3 separate regions of the Homo sapiens genome follow, and regions 1 and 2 are each linked to region 3. Evidence: promoter capture Hi-C in 16 types of primary human blood cells and fetal thymus (Javierre and others, 2016). All regions are on one chromosome and are shown on one strand. The core of a region is centred on a gene start or on the middle of the fragment in contact, and the rest is flanking DNA. Distances in the headings are between cores, read along the strand shown. Region 1 overlaps LRRC37A3 (leucine rich repeat containing 37 member A3). Region 2 has its middle 5.7 kb from the start of LRRC37A3. Region 3 holds the start of KANSL1 (KAT8 regulatory NSL complex subunit 1).

Region 1 (3,116 bases), core at 514-3,013, about 19 Mb after region 3:
CACGCCTGGCAATGAAGACTAATTTTTAAACGTTGAGTGCTACCACGGAGACCAGCCTGTATCATGAGTCACAGTGGAGACTTTCGGAACATCTAGGAAACTTCAGAAGGGCTCTAAGCCCCTGGGTGGTACAGACAGTTGTCACCTTGGATAACGTTGCCACAGTTCTTGCTGGCGACCATTTCCCTTCATTTCACTGAAACAAAAACAAAAACAAAAAACCCTCACAGATGCCTTAGGCCTTTCCTTGATTTTAAAACATTATTCTCTTTTCTGTATTTATAAAAACCAAAAAAGACAGGAACTAGGTGCATGTGCTAAAGTAGAAAAGAACACTTAAGGCCAGGAGCAGTTGCTCATGCCTGTAATCCCAGCACTTTGGGAGGCTGAGGTGGGCAGACTGCCTGAGGTCAGGAGTTCGAGACCAGCCTGACCAATATGGTGAAACCCTGTCTCTACTAAAAATACAAAAACTAGCAGGGCGTGGTGGTGGGTACCTATAATCCCAGCTACTTGGGAGGCTGAGACAGGAGAATCTGGGAGGCGGAGATTGCAGTGAGCAGAGACCGGGCCATTGCACTCTAGCCTGGGGAACAAGAGTGAAACTCCACCTCAAAAAAACAAAAAATAAAAGGACCCTTAAACTAGATAACAGTGGGGGTCAAGCAGTAACCCAAGGCTCTGAGTTCAGTAAGTAAATAAATCTAATATGAATGCCCTCTCCTCTCACTCATCTATTAACTTGTAGAACATTTCCTTCATTACTGCATCAGCGATGAGCTTTATGCTGTGAAATTCTCAAAATCTAAAGCTTATGAAGTGGTCTCAAGGTCCAAAGCACACTAAAAACTCATTACTTACAAAATGATACCAAGTAACTGTTTCATCATCTTTACCGTACCTTTACCATATTTGAGTGGCTATGTGAAATGGTCACAGGTTAGAAACACATCATAGTCCAAAAGTTGAAGAATATTCCACAGGTAATCATTTCAGTCACAGGAAGTGGAACCAGGATTGAAGAGGGTGTTGAATAAGCTACAAAAGTGGGTATAGTATACCTGGAGTCATTACTAAGCAGAGTTCTCAGATTTGATCAAGGTTAATTCAATGAGAAATGGAATATATATAGACAATAGGCAACAAGATTAGCAGGAAGCAGTCAGATCAAGTAGCCAATCAGGAATTGAAATCGGTCCTTGAAAATGGAAAGGTGATTGAATTGAGGCATACAATGAGATATCCTTCTGTGGCTCTGGGAAAGTAAAATTGGTTGGCATATTAACATGGAATAGGATTTCTACAAGGCCGCTTAAAGAATGTTTCCATCCTCTGAGAACTGAAGGGAGTTCCAAATAGGCAGTTTGTGACTGATGATGAGCATGTTGATGATAAAGTCTCCTTTATATAACAGCCGGCAGACGACTTGGTCACACCCACACATCTTAAATTCACATAAAGGTAAATATATGGTCAGGCGTGGTGGCCCACACCTGTAGTCTCAGCACCTTTGGGGAGGCGAAGGCGGGGGTGGATCATTTGAGGTCAGGAGTTCAAGACCAGTCTGGCCAACATGGTGAAACTCCATCTCTACTAAAATACAAAAATTAGCCAGGCATGGTGGTGCATGCCTGTGGTCCCAGCTACTCAGGAGGCCGAGGCAGGAGAATCACGTGAACCCGGGAGGCGGAGGTTGCAGTGAGCCAAGATCGCACCACTGCCCTCCAGCCTAGGCAACAGAGACTCCGTCTCAAAAACAAGTCAATATAGCTGGGCATGGTGGCTTGTACCTAGCTACTTAAGAGGCTGAGGCAGGAGGATTGCTTGAGGTCAGGATTTAGAGACCAGCCTGGGCAACACAGGGATACTCTGCCTCTCTAAAAATATTTTAAGAAGTACCACCACCATGCCCAGCTAATTTTTTTTGTATTTTTAATAGAGACGGGGTCTCACCATGTTAGCCAGGCTGGTCTCAAACTCCTCACCTCAGGTGATCCACCCGCTTCAGCCTCCCAAAGTGCTGGGATTACAGGCATGAGCCACAGTGCCCAGCCCAGAACTTGCATTTCTAACAATTCCCAGGTTGTGCTGTTTGGGGAACCATACTTTGAGAAACACTTCCCTATAATCTGATAGGTTATTTCCCCTAAGATCCAGATGAGTAAAAATTAATACACATTAGATGAAATTCCAGAAGTTATCTTCGAACTTTGCTACTCATTGAATGTCATGAAGATATTGGAAAAAAAAGAAAAAAAACAAAAAACAACCTTGCTACTCAACGAGGGATTTGCTATTATCACATTTCAGAGAAATTCAGAACCTCAGGCCTAAACCCAGGCCTACTAAATCAGGATCTGCAGTTTCTCACAATCTTCAGGTGATTTCTATGGTCATTAAAGTTTGAAAAGCTGCCTTGAAACAGTCCTTCCTAAAACTGAAGTGGAGGTGCCACAAAAATCATCTGGTAAATTGTTTAAAGTAATCCCAAATGCAACTCAAATCTACAGAATCCCAGGTGAAGCTCAGTAATCTGTATTTTTATCCTTCTCCCCAAATAATTCTGATGTGCAGGCAAGTTTGAAAACCACTGCTTTAAAGAAAATGGATACTCCCCTTACCAAGCAGAAAGTAGGATTTTGGAAACTGATGCAAGGGAAGCAAAAAAGATGCCTCAGGAGGCACGATTACAACAGGATTGATGCAAACGGAAGCTGAAGCTTAACCAAAGACATTAATGTACGCCCACAAAAGAAACTGCTAAGGAAGTCAAGTGGTCTGCATGAATTCTGAAGAAAAATGGAGAACCAAAGAACAAAATTTGTCAATGAATTTCCAGCACAGTCTAGGTTAAGGGAGTGAATTTCTTGACTGAATGGCACAGACTCTGTACCACCTGATTGGCTGTTACCTTAATGGAGGAATTATATTACAATGTATAGGTACTTTAATTAGAATGACCTGGCAGTTACTGAGGCAAAATTTTCCGCTCCTTTGTATTCTGTAATACAAGAAGGATCTACATGGATGTTCTGTTCTCTGAACTGTCTGGATGAACCGGTCAACGGCACTCATCATACCTTAGTTTTTAAATCTGCATTGTGGTCATAATCTGT
Region 2 (3,155 bases), core at 200-2,699, about 19 Mb after region 3:
TGAGGTACTCATGTAATGATTGTTACTAGTATAATTGGTGCATAGGGCTGGGTGACCCTGCAAAAAAAGAGGCACAGCAAACTTTATTTCAGGTACAGATGGACCTTACCTTTAGGCAAATCCTTGAAATTTTGGCGTGGGGAATCAGGTTTTTCTGTGGGTTTTTTGTTTGTTTTTGGCTTTTCATAGACAGCTATATGAAGTCTCTGCTTTAGAATCTATAAAACTATAGCTTCAGAGGCTGGGCGAAATGGCTCATGCCTATAATCCCAGCACTTTGGGAGGCTGAGGTGAAAGGATCACTTGAGGTCAGGAGATCGAGACCAGCCTGGCTAACAGGGCGAAACCCCGTCTGTACTAAAAATGCAAAAATTAGCCAGGCATGGTGGCAGGCACCTGTAATCCCAGCTGCTTGGGAGGCTGAGGGAGGAGAATCACTTGAACCCAGAAGGCGGAGGTTGCAGTGAGCCGAGATCATGCCACTGCACGACAGAGCGAGACTCCATGTCGAAACAAAAAACTGTAGCTTCAGAGATTCACTTAAATTATCATTTATAGGCCAAGAGAGTTGTGGCTCACAGCCTGTAATCCCAGCATTCTAAAAGGCTGAGGTGGGTGGATCACTTGAGGCCAGGATTTTGAGACCAGCCTGGGCAACATGGCAAAACCCTGTTTCTACAAAAAGGAATTTGCTGGGTGTTGTGATGCACACCTGTAGTCTCAGCTACTTGGCGAGGCTGAGGCCAGGGGACTGCTTGACCCCAGGAGGTCGACCCTGCAGTGAGCCATGATAGCACCACTGTACTCTAGCCGGGGCGATCAAGTGAGGCCCTATCTCCAAAAAAAAGTTTTGTTTTGTTTTGTTTTAACAGGGTCTCACTTTGTCATCTACATTGGAGCACAGTGGTGCCATCACAGCTCACTGAAGTCTTCACCTCTCAGGCTTAAGGGAGCCTCCAACCTCAGCCTTCCAAGTAGTTGGCACTACAGGCATGCGTCACCACACCTGGCTCATTTTTGTATTTTTTAGTAGAGATGGGGTTTCACCATGTGTCCAGGCTGGTCTTGAGCTCCTGGACGCAAGTGATCTTCCGCCCTCGGCCTCCCAAACTGCTGGGATTACAGGTGTGAGCCACTGTGCTGGACGAATTTTTTTAAAGAAGGAAAAATAAAATTAATTCGGCCCTTCATTAAAAAAATTAAAAACTCTTTAAAGGAAACGTGGGCTAAGTTATTTTTCTGAGAGACTATAAGATTTGGGAAGAAAAATAATCATGATGAAACGTTTTGGGAATATTTTTGGTATTTAAAATTATTGTAGAAATTTATAAATGTGTCAGATTTTGGCTGGGCACAGTGGCTCACACTTGTAATCCAAGCACTTTGGGAGGCCAAGGTGGGCAGACCACCTGAGGTCGGGAGTTCGAGACCAGCCTAGCCAACATGGTGAAACCCTATCTCTAAAAGAATTTTTAAAAAAATTTTAAGTCAGATTTTAAGAAATATTCTTATGGCTGGGTACAGGTGGCTCATAACTGTCATCCCAGCACTTTGGGAGGCAAAGGCAGGCGGATCACTTGAGCTCAGGAGGTAAGTTACCTGGGCAACACAGCAAGACTCCATCTCTACAAAAAAAAAAAGTAGCTGGGCATGGTGGTGAGCACCTGTAGCTACTTGAGGGGTTAAGTCAGGAGGATCACTTGAGCCTGGCAGGTCAAGGCTATAGCAAGCCGTGTTTATGTCACTGCAGTCCAGGCAGGGTGACAAAGTGAAACTCTTATCTCCAAATGAGAAAGAAATCCTCTTGGTCGTAGATATGATTTCTTTACACCAAGTTTGTTCGTGGATGCCAATCACAATGGGTTTGTCCCTAGGGTAATATAGTTTGCTTTGATCATTTCCAAGAGTAAGTTGTACTACAGGATAGCAGAAGAGATGCACTTAAAAAGTATGGCAAAATGCATATTGAGACAATAGTATGTTGGCCAGACACAGAGACTCACGCTTGTAATCCCAGCACTTTGGGAGGCTGAGGTGGGTCACCTGAGGTCAGGAGTTCAAGGCCAGCCTGGCAAACATGGTGAAACCCTGTCTCTAACAAAAATACAAAAAATTAGCTGAGCTTGGTGGCACGTGCCTGTGGTCCTAGTTACTTGGGAGGCTGAGGTGGGAGGATCACTTGAGCCTGGGAGGTGCAGGGTACACTGAGCCGAGATTGTGCCACTACACTCTAACCTGGGTGACAGAGTGAGACCCAGTCTTAAAAAAAAAAAGAAAAAACAAGATGCAGTAAAGAAGCCGACCAAAACCAAGATGGTGACGAAAGTGACCTCTGGTCGTCCTCACTGCTCGTTAAAACTTTTTTTTTAAAAATATGAAAAGAGGCTGGGCCCTGTGGCTCACACCTGTAATCTCAGGACTTTGGGAGGCAAAGGCAGGTGGATTGCCTGAAGTCAGGAGTTTGAGACCAGCCTGGCCAACGTGGCACAACCAAAAATGCAAAAATTAGCCAGATGTGGTGGCACACACCTGTAATCCCAGCTACTTGGGAAGCTGAGGCAAGAGAATTGCTTGAAGCCAGGAGACAGAGGTTGCAGTGAGCCGAGATCATGCCACTGTACTCCAGCCTGGGTGATAGAGCAAGGCTCTGTCAAAAAAAAAAAAAAAAAAAAAAAAAAAGCCTGGCCTGGTGGTGCACGTCTGTAGTCCCAGCTACTCGGGAGGCTGAGGTGGGAGGATCATGTGAGCCTGGGAGGTCCAGGCTGCAGGGGGCCGTGATCCTGCCCCTGCCCTGCAGCCTGGGTTATACAGCGAGACAAAAGAAAAAAGAAAAAAGTTAGTGGTAACAGGATAAACTACATAACCGTATATTATTCCTTCACATTCATGAAGCAGGTCAATTTGAAGCTTGAGGACGACTTCCATTCCTCTAGGTGAATCTACCAAGAAATGCCTTGGTAGAGCTAGGAGTGCCAATGGTATCAGCAAGGCCAGCCTGGTTCCCTGTGATTCATGGTAATTCTCACTATGACTTTGACATGATGTTCCTACACTGTGCCTATCAACACTTGTAGACACACTGTATAAGCGTTTGTTACATTTACTTTTTCTTTTGTCATTAGGTCTTTTATTACAGAGGCCACTGTGCACTCCAC
Region 3 (3,249 bases), core at 66-2,565:
TATAAATCCACATTGGGATTCCAACATTGGAAAACGAGGATTTTTAAGTAAGACACGGGAGTAGCGCTGTTTATCGTATGGAAAACAAACTATTTGCTAAGAATCAAAAGACCGTCAGCCGGAAAACAGGCCCCCAAAAAGGCAGTTAAGATTCCAACTCACTTAAAAGCAAATAAATCCCTCTTCCTCTTTAGTTTAAAAAAAAAAAAAGTCCGCCTGAGGGAGACTACATCTGAAAACGTAAGTGACCTGAATTTACAGGCAACAAAAATAATAAATGAAACAATCAGAGTTGTGATACAAACCGTGCAACGCGCCAAGATGTGTGTTTCGAGCAGAGAAAGGCCTTTTGCAGTCAAGAGAAGTTCAAGGCGAGAGCCAGAGTTTGTTTGGGGGGTTCTTTTACGGGAATAAATCATGTTCTTCAGGCCGCCTTTTTAAATAGAACGCCAAAGGAAAAGCTGGCGAACGAGGCGGCAGCTCCTGGGGAAGGGCCCCCGCACACCCCCGCCCTTGGGGCGACTCCCAGCCCGGACCCGCAGCAGGGAAGCCCGGAGAGGCCATTTAAAGTTCCGGGGGATTTTTCTACCCTGCCCTGCCTTTCTAGTTACAACTAACAAAGAGAGAGAGAAATGGGAGCCACAGGGAGAGCGAGGAGAAGGAGAAAGGGCAGCAGGAGGAGGAGGAGAGGAGCAGCAGCAGCACCTACCACGTGATGGAGGAGCGTAGCCCGGGCGGATTCAGCCCCACAAAATGGGCGCAGTTTGCAAACAGCCCCCCGGCCTGGGCGCCGAGGGCCAGCGGCGGGCGGGGGCGCGCGACGGCGGCTCCGGCCCGGGCCCGCCGCTCTCCTCCCCCCGACGCCCGGAGCCGCCCTGACTTTCCGGGCGGGGGGGCGAGGCAGAGGGGGAGGGGAAGGCGGCGGCGGGGAGCGGCTGCTTTTTCTTCTCTTTCGGGCCCTTTCCCGGCCTTGCTCCGCACCGACGGGGCCCGAGCACGGCTGGAGACCGCAGCCCGGCCGGGAGGGCGGGCGGGCGGGGGCAGAGAGTGAAACCGCCCCCCCGCCCCGCACAAACAAGCACCGCCGTCTGCAGCCCGAACCCGCACCCAGGCCGCCACCCCCGGCCGCCTCTTTCCAGCCGGGGAGCGCGCTTCAGCCGCCCCCCGCGCCGCCGCGGCGAGACGAGTCGGCTTCGCTACGGTGCTCGGTTCTCCCGCCGGCTCGGCGAGCGGTGGCGGCGGTGGCGGCGGCACTGGGAAAATGGCGGCCGAGCTCCTTTTCCCTCCCCCCCTTTAATCTGAAGCGGAGGGAGAATGGAGCGAGCGAGCAAGCGGGCGAGCGCCGGGGACACGGGGAGGAGGGACAGCAGCGCCTCCGCCGGCTGCGGCTGCGGCGGCGAAGGGCCGCTCCACCCCGGCGCGCCGCCAGGGGGCGCCCGCCGCGCCGCCCCCGCGGGCCGCCAGGAGGCGCGGCCGCCGCCGCCTCAGTCATGGCTCCTCGCCGTGGCCGATGTTTTTGTACCTCCATCTGCGGAGGCCGCGGCGCCCGGCCCCAGCTGCCCCGGACGTGCGGCGACGGCACGCAGCACTGCGGCAGGGGGAAGCCAGCCCTCGCTGCGGCCGAGGTGAGTCTAACCTGAGGCACTGACGCCGTCACATGCCCTCCGTGCTGGGGCCGGCGGTGCGGCTCGCCAGTTGAGGGGCAGGGCGGGCCGGCGCCGCGGAGCGAGAGGACGTGAGCGAGGAACTGTTTGCACTGTGTAGTAAAGAGGGTAAGGCCGTCGGCACCACACTATTCCAAGGCTAACCCTGCAGAAAGCTCCCTGACCAGTGAAGCGGCTTCCGCCGCCCGCCCTTTGTCCCTAGCAGCCAGCCTCCGTATACTGCAGCACGGCTGGGCACTAGCCCCAGCACCGCGCTCCGCAGCCACCAGAGTTGGGCGGGGTGGGGAGGGTGCACGTAGTCACTGCGCAGGCCCCAGCCAGGGCCCGCGCCGGGCCAGCCCGGGAAGGGACAGCCGGGAGCCAGAGGGGAAGTGATGGCCCCGCCGGCGCCGGGCCCGCTGGGAACTGTAGTTTTCGTGAAGAAACACGCGTCTTGTTTTGGGTGTCATGGCTTGGCAGATCCGCCAAAACAGGCAAATGGCATTACACAATGAGTATTTATGCTTCCTGCCGCCACCAAAAGGAAGTTCACTGCCATGCTAAAAGTTTAACAAAGAACTCCATAAAGAAACACAAGTCTCACAACAAAAAGCCAACTTCCCACCTCGTTACCAGAGTTGGTTTAAAGTGGTGGCACCTTATCATTTCTCATGACCAGTTTATCAGTACAGAACTTTATATTGTCCCCAAAATAGGACCTTTAAAATAATGGAACCTTTCCTAGACTTAAAGAATTCATAAACATAATGTAATACAAAGTGTCACACAAAGTGTAATTCTACCACCCTTTAAAGTTGCCAAAAGATGAGTGGAGTATCTTGAGATTTAAAAGACTAATCTAGGATTCATCAAAACTGGCTTAAATGACTGAAGAAAAAATCGTTCAAATCATTAAATCATCAAATTCGGCAGATAAGAAGGGTATGTATGCTCTACTACCAAAAAGGAAGACGCAAAATGCTTCACACTTTTTTGTGGCTTACCAGAACCAATATCCGGCATTATACGTCACTTCTGCTTATCAAAAAACACCCTCACAGTCGTTACAGAACGGTTTTAGTCTTCCCACAAAGTTACACTAACTCACCTGCCCCTGCAACATCTGCACCTAGGTTTCTGCGAATTTCCATTTGTACTCCTAAAATCACACTCTCAAGCATAGTCATAGTTCTCAAATACCAAAGGCAGGCAGTTTGGAGTCATAGGGTCAAATTACACAAAGAATAAACTAATATTTGTATACACATCCAAAAGAGGTCTTTAGTCTTGGATTTTTAATTTACAACCCTGGGGAAAAACTTTGACTTTTTTATTGTACACACATACACACATAAATAGTAATTCCACAAAATACAGTAGAAGGGTATTGGACCAACAGATGGCGAACTAGAGCCCCAATCTGAGGCTCCTGAAATCTAAATTAGCAGAATGAAAAATACCAAATAAGGCAAAGCCCTTTGCAGCGTATACTTAAATATTAAATTCAGACACACCATAACAAAATAATCTTACTGCTGCTCCAAATTTTTAAGACTGAACTGTCAGATTTAATTAGGCAACCAAATAAGCAAGATTATATGAAATA

What was found. Contacts are between HindIII fragments. The CHiCAGO score rates a contact against its expected background, and 5 or more counts as called.
Region 1: a contact is called between a fragment that was not itself captured here and the fragment with the promoter of KANSL1 in region 3, in 1 of 17 cell types (M2 macrophages). The highest score is 9.1, in M2 macrophages.
Region 2: a fragment that was not itself captured here is called in contact with the fragment with the promoter of KANSL1 in region 3 in 17 of 17 cell types (M0 macrophages, monocytes, M2 macrophages and 14 more); the score reaches 77.6 in M0 macrophages.

Annotation. Positions count from the first base shown.
Region 1 is chr17:64,907,021-64,910,136 of GRCh38, forward strand. All of the region lies in intron 2 of LRRC37A3 (leucine rich repeat containing 37 member A3), which reads right to left. LOC105376844 (a long non-coding RNA gene) reads left to right here. Exons shown (of 4, transcript XR_934912.4): 4 at 2,575-2,745. Among named protein-coding and RNA genes, the nearest start is that of LRRC37A3, 11 kb to the right of the region's middle. The HindIII fragment of the contact is 1,909 bases long and covers 810-2,718 here.
Region 2 is chr17:64,923,608-64,926,762 of GRCh38, forward strand. No RefSeq gene overlaps it. Among named protein-coding and RNA genes, the nearest start is that of LRRC37A3, 5.7 kb to the left of the region's middle. The HindIII fragment of the contact is 2,912 bases long and covers 1-2,905 here.
Region 3 is chr17:46,192,114-46,195,362 of GRCh38, forward strand. KANSL1 (KAT8 regulatory NSL complex subunit 1) reads right to left here and starts at 1,316. Exons shown (of 15, transcript NM_015443.4): 1 at 710-1,316. KANSL1-AS1 (KANSL1 antisense RNA 1) reads left to right here and starts at 1,460. Exons shown (of 2, transcript NR_034172.1): 1 at 1,460-1,625. The HindIII fragment of the contact is 13,741 bases long and covers 1-3,249 here.